Linked DNA regions of Homo sapiens: region 2 is linked to region 1. The links are contacts of gene promoters, found by promoter capture Hi-C in blood cells and fetal thymus (Javierre and others, 2016). All regions are on one chromosome and are shown on one strand. Each heading gives the region's core, a stretch centred on a gene start or on the middle of the fragment in contact. The rest is flanking DNA. Distances are from core to core; before and after follow the strand shown. Region 1 holds the start of GARIN6 (golgi associated RAB2 interactor family member 6). Region 2 overlaps ANKS1B (ankyrin repeat and sterile alpha motif domain containing 1B).

What was found. Contacts are between HindIII fragments. The CHiCAGO score rates a contact against its expected background, and 5 or more counts as called.
Region 2: a fragment that was not itself captured here is called in contact with the fragment with the promoter of GARIN6 in region 1 in 1 of 17 cell types (M1 macrophages); the score reaches 6.5 in M1 macrophages.

Annotation. Positions count from the first base shown.
Region 1 is chr12:99,646,306-99,649,223 of GRCh38, reverse strand. GARIN6 (golgi associated RAB2 interactor family member 6) reads right to left here and starts at 1,471. Exons shown (of 2, transcript NM_153364.4): 1 at 435-1,471. The coding sequence starts at 1,049. The region is part of intron 9 of ANKS1B (ankyrin repeat and sterile alpha motif domain containing 1B); the gene reads left to right. The HindIII fragment of the contact is 12,136 bases long and covers 629-2,918 here.
Region 2 is chr12:99,059,304-99,062,273 of GRCh38, reverse strand. All of the region lies in intron 16 of ANKS1B (ankyrin repeat and sterile alpha motif domain containing 1B), which reads left to right. Among named protein-coding and RNA genes, the nearest start is that of APAF1, 420 kb to the right of the region's middle. The HindIII fragment of the contact is 1,679 bases long and covers 433-2,111 here.

The DNA.
Region 1 (2,918 bases), core at 222-2,721:
TAAACAACAAAAAGAAATTATTGCACAAGTACACAAACATGTTGTGTTGCCACCAATGTATATAAGTGGCAATTGCAGGGAGACACGTCCTACAACATATCAGCCTGCCTAGGTCATAGTATGTGTTTCAGAATAGACTGGTCAGGATGCTTTGGACAGCATTACAACATTGATATAAAATGAACAGCTGTGGATATAAAATGAAGAGTTGCTGACAGCTAAGAAATCTCTGAAATTCAGGCTTGGAGAACCCTGGAGAAGCACTAGGAACCTCCTCAATGTACCATGGCCTCCAAATGGAAGCTCATTTGGCCTTCAGACCTTCCAAATGCAATGCATTTCCCAGGTGAGCTGCAGCACCAAAGGCTTTACAGGACCTGTACCTGCTCTCCCCCAAAGCATCCAGGCCCCATCTAGTCTCTGCATAGACTCACCACTGGGCTCCTCTGCACTTCCTCCAACACAGATGAGTCCAATGTGTTCCCAGCTAGGATAGCCCTGGTATCACTGTAAGCCTCCACTGGTGGTCTCAGGATGTAAACAAGGTTTTCCCAGTGAACAAAAAGGTCTTCACTTGCATCCGATGGAGGACACAGCTGAAGATAAAAAGAGCGGCCCGTGGCAAGCTTCAGGTGGAGCTGTTTTTTTACGCTGTTGTGGATGGTTATTTTCACAAACATCAAGGGAAGCAGCCTGGTTAGTTCTAAGATCTCTGCAGGCGGACTTTCTCTTTTCTGGGTGGCAGGACCACACCTGGCATTGTCACAGACAGCAGCTGGTCGGGCCAGCAGCATGACATCAGGTAGTGTGAGGCAGGGGCTGGTGCGAACGATGCCCATTGTTACCATTCGGGCACGGTTGTGCACGTCAATCACTTCTCCTCTTTTGCTGATCTGGATAAAGTCGCTCTCAAACATGGGTGCATACCTGAATATAGTATACTCGCCTTTGTACAGTTGCCGCTGCAGCTTCCCCATGGAGGTGTTAAACATGCCCATTGCGGGGCTGCTTTGGGCCGTGTAATACGGTAGCATACAGCAGTCCTCCATGTCTTCCTTTAAATCAAGACAGTTCCCAGCAGCTGCTCCACACCTTCCTTAACATGCTTTAGCGGGCATCCTGTTTCCTTGGCTACTCTGGCAGGTGGGCCAGCAGTCGTGTTCTGCAGGCTTTCTTTTTTGTCCCCAAGTGACTGAGAACAGGGAGGGTGGGGTATTGATTACCAACCGCTCAATGCCAGAGACAGTCAGTCCCCTGGATCCAGACTGTGCCCTGCTTAGTGCATGGAGCTGTCAGGAGCACAGGTGTTGGGGCCCTCGTGGATGTCCGGGCACACAGGTGTCAGTGCTCATTCGGGAGGGACCTCCATTTGAGCCTGATATTCCACTTCACAACAGCCTTTGCTCTTTGATTCCACAACCTTAACTGGCAATCCCACTGCTCTTCTTCCCAACCTGAACCATCCACTGCTGCTAAACCACCCCGCAGGACCACTTTTATCCTCCCCTACCCATTGTGACCTGCCCCATCACACACCCCTTTGTCTCTGTCACCCAGTAGTCCCTGCCTCAGAGCAGGGGCACCGCCCTCTCCACCCCACCCTCAGCCCCACCGCCCTCCACAGCTCAGCAGACCACTACCCCGCCACCAACCTACCATCTAGGGACCTTAATGCATTCTGGCAAATTGCTTTCAAAAGGGTTAGAGGTAAATTTTCTGTGCAAGGCAAGAGTTTAATATACATTCTCTGTATACTCATTTATCCAGCTCCTCTAGTTGTAGACATTTATTTTAAAGAGAGAATTGGATAAATTGGTAAACAGATTGGTACAGGATGTTTATCAATGTTTGTTGTAGAGTAAAAAATTATAAACAGCATTAGTGTCTTACAATAGGGGATTGCTTAAATAAATTATGGAGCTTCTGTGACGGGACAGTCTGCAGCCCTAAAAATGATTACGTAGTTTTCCTATTTATTGACATGAAAAGATATCCCTGACCTTTTTTTTTCTTAAAGAATAAGAGAAAAACTGATTTCAAACTCATAGTATAGGTGAGATTCAATTTATGTAAGACCACGTGTATGTGTTTGTGGATATGGAATTATGTTCAGTGAAATGTTTAAAGTGCTTAGGTATAATTTTCATTTTCTTTTTAACTTCTATTTTTATTAGGAAATTTATTTCTGTTACCAGGGGAAATAACTATTTTATTGGCAATGTATTTTTTTTTTTCTGTTTCTATAGCCATGATAAATTTTATGTTTTGACTCACCCTCAAACTGTTGATGCAATTTTTGAGTTTTACCTAGACATTCATACCCTGGCTATGGAATGAAAAGAGCCTTAAACATCACATTTATGCTCTATTCTTTACCATCAGATTGTATTGAGAAAAAAAAAAGCTGTAAAGAATTTTGCTAGGTATTGCAAATATTTTCAATTCAATAAGATTATAATATCTTTATTGAAATGACAGTACACATGATAACCCATGTGAACACAAACACACACACACACACAGAGCCATAGCCATAGTTGAGTCTTTTTTTTTTTTTTTTTTTTTTTTTTTGAGATGGAGTCTCACTCTGTCACCCGGGCTGGAATCAGTGGCGTGATCTTGGCTCACTGCAACCTCCGCCTCCTGGGTTCAAGTGATTCTCCTGCATCAGCTTTCCTAGTAGCTGGGACTACAGGCGTGTGCCACCACGCCCGGCTAATTTGTATTTTTAGTAGAGATGGGGTTTCACCATATTGCTCAGGCTGGTCTCGAACTCCTGACCTCGTGATTCGCCCGCCTTGGCCCCCCAAGTGCTGGGATTACAGGTGTGAGCCACCGTGCCCAGCCCACTTGAGTCTTTAGTTGCATAAGTCAATGCAAACATAATTTCTTCCTTTCATATTGAAATGTTTGATTAT
Region 2 (2,970 bases), core at 23-2,522, 590 kb after region 1:
ATTGAATACATATGGCAACGCTCAGCGATAGATATTCTTTTAATCTTTCACATTACTAATCAGAAAATGGATGCTTAGGAAGTATGAGTGATTTGCTCGAGGTCAGATAGCTAATAAGTGGAGTTGCCAACACTCTTACCTGTACTTTGATGATGCCCAAGGCCGCGTGTCTCCCCAGACTTCTCCAAATTTAAAGTGCCATTCCACAGCATAGCATCTTAAATTTCTCATGTCTCAAAATTATTCATGTCATCCCAGTCTATTTTCTTTTCTCTTTTACCTGGTAACACCACCATTTGCCCAGATATCCAAGCTAGAAACTTGGGGTTTCCCTGCATTTTTCTCCTCTTATCCCTTGCATAGTTGTTACAAAGGGATGATGCTGTGATTGACAGAGAAATGCCAACAAACACAGTTAAAGGAAATGAAGCTTCTTTAACGATAACAGATGTGAAAACTTACGGCCCCACAAAACAAGAGATAATACAATGTAATGTCAAATGGAAGTACAGGCTTCATTTAAATGTTCTACATGAAACTGCCTTATTTTTAGTTATGTTTGTATTCAAGGAAAGGCTATGATACTGAAATAGAGACATTCATAATATAGTGGTTTAAAGAATCGAATATTAATTTCTCTCATATAATAGTCTTGAAATGAGCAGTGCAGGTTTACAAGGTGGCTTTGCTCTATGCAATTGTGGAAGGACCGAGGACCTTCTATTTGTTGTTCTGTCATCCTCCAAAGCACTACTACTCAAAGTGTGGTTCATGGGCTGACAGCATTAGCATCACCAGGAAGCTGGTTAGAAATGCAGAATCTCCAATCCTCCCTCCAAATAACGGAATTAGAATCGTCTGCTAATAAGATTCTCTGCATGATTCCTAAGCACGTTGAGGTCTGAGAAGCATTTCCCAGACTCCAGGGTATTGTTTTGCCTGTGTAGTCAAAGCTGAACTGCAGTCACTGATGTTCCAGCTTATAGGAAGATGAAGAAAAAAGAGGAATTCTAGGTCGAGGAACTTCTTTTAGCTAGAGGTGACCTGAAAGTTACATGCAACACTTTCATTAGCATTCCACAGGCTCAACCATATTTTCACAGCAGCAACCAGAAAAAAAGCTGATGTATCTTGTCTCTAGTCCGGCAGGCATGAACCCAATTTAACCCCATTATGTGGAAGAAGAGAGGACAAGTTTAAGGGAACAACAAGTAGTCTTTTTCTCAATTTTCTAACACTTTTGGACATAAAAATGCCTGTCTAATCCATTATTGGCTTTTCAGGGTTCCTTATCCTCTTGTTCTAAATACCATGCCAATATCATAATTCTAGGTTAATAAGTTGTCCCATCAAGAACTACTTTTCTCATTTAATCCCAAAGCTATTATAATGTATATCACCTTTCTCTCTCTTTTTATTTTTTTTACCTGTTTTTATTGCCTTCCTCCTGCTATACCTTCCATCCTGTGGCTCCGTCATCTCATAAGATATTATCCTTATCTGCACAGAAAATGCTGGCTTCAGGCAAAGAGAAAGAATGATGGAATGACAGGCTCTCTCTCTCTATATATATGTGTGTGTGTGTGTGTGTGTGTGTGTGTGTGTGTGTGTGTGTGTGTGATGTGTATATATGTATATGTGTGTATATATATATATAACCACATATATATAACAGATCCATAATATTTCAAATAAAGCTAAAAAGTTAAGAGAAAATAAAATCATAGTGGTCATGTAATCTTACAAAAGTCTTCTAGATTCGTGGTTTTCAAACATTTCTTTTTAAAGCCGAGAAAACCTTTCTTCCTCTTACTTGTATAAAACGCATAAAATAAGAGTTACTCTGGTTGAAGTCGATCAAGCAGTCTCAGAGCATGGGTTGTTCAGCTGCCCCGTAGCTGACCCCCTCAAACCCAGAACTCCACAGAGTACTGTCCTGTGGTTTCTCTGCCTGCTGTACCACCTGTGATGTTAACAGCATACTCTCTCTGAGGCCAAGTATGCTCTAAAAAACTCCTGGAGGAAAGTCATTTGGGTGGAACAAGAACAAGGAAGGCATTTGGCAAAAAAAAAATATGTTAATATATCTCAATTTTCCCAAGACTAAAGCTTCACTGCTATCTCGAATTTCTGTCTCAGCTTAGGTTTTTCCAGACTTTGGAATTCAACTAATTGAATCAAATTGCCTTGTTGCGAGCCTCTGTAATGAATGCCTGCTGCCTGCTCACCACTCTGCCTCTCAGATTATAGAGTGAGCCTGACTTCCGTTCATGCTTAGCAGCACTGCTGGCCTGGCAGGCCGATGGAGCTGTCACTTCCTAGCCCTGTCTTGCCAGATGTTCCCGCTGGAAAAAAAGTTTCATCATTGCTAATTTGAGAATGCAGTCACAGTGCTCCCTGTGGGTACTGCTGAAGATACATGAAAGAAATGTGAATGCCATCTGACCTTTAGTCTACACGTCCTATCATATATATATATATATATGAATTTTAGTTTTGTCTTTGGGCTTATTTTTTCTTTCCTGGGTAAACAAATAGGTTACTAATTTAAAATTAATTTACGAGTCATGGAATTGCAAAATTTAGGAATTACAAAGCAGCTTTGAGATCCTTGGTCCAATACCTTCATTTTATAGCTGACACCACTGAAGCTTAGAGAGATGAAGTGACTTGCCCATGGCTACATGGCTAATAGAATCAAGTCTTCTGTGCTATGGAAACAAAGTCCATTGCATTCTGTAACACAATATCCTATCTGGAACTGGTTCTTGATATATGGAGGTTTTAAATAGTTATGAATGTTATTGTTAGGCAGAAAAAGATAACCTTAGTTTTCATAACATGGAGTACAAAATACAAATCTCTCCCACAAATGGATACCAAGCCACTGAAATGAATTTGTCATTTTGTCTTCATGTATTCATTAAGTCACTTAATTTAACAAACATTTAGCATATGCTTGCCATATGT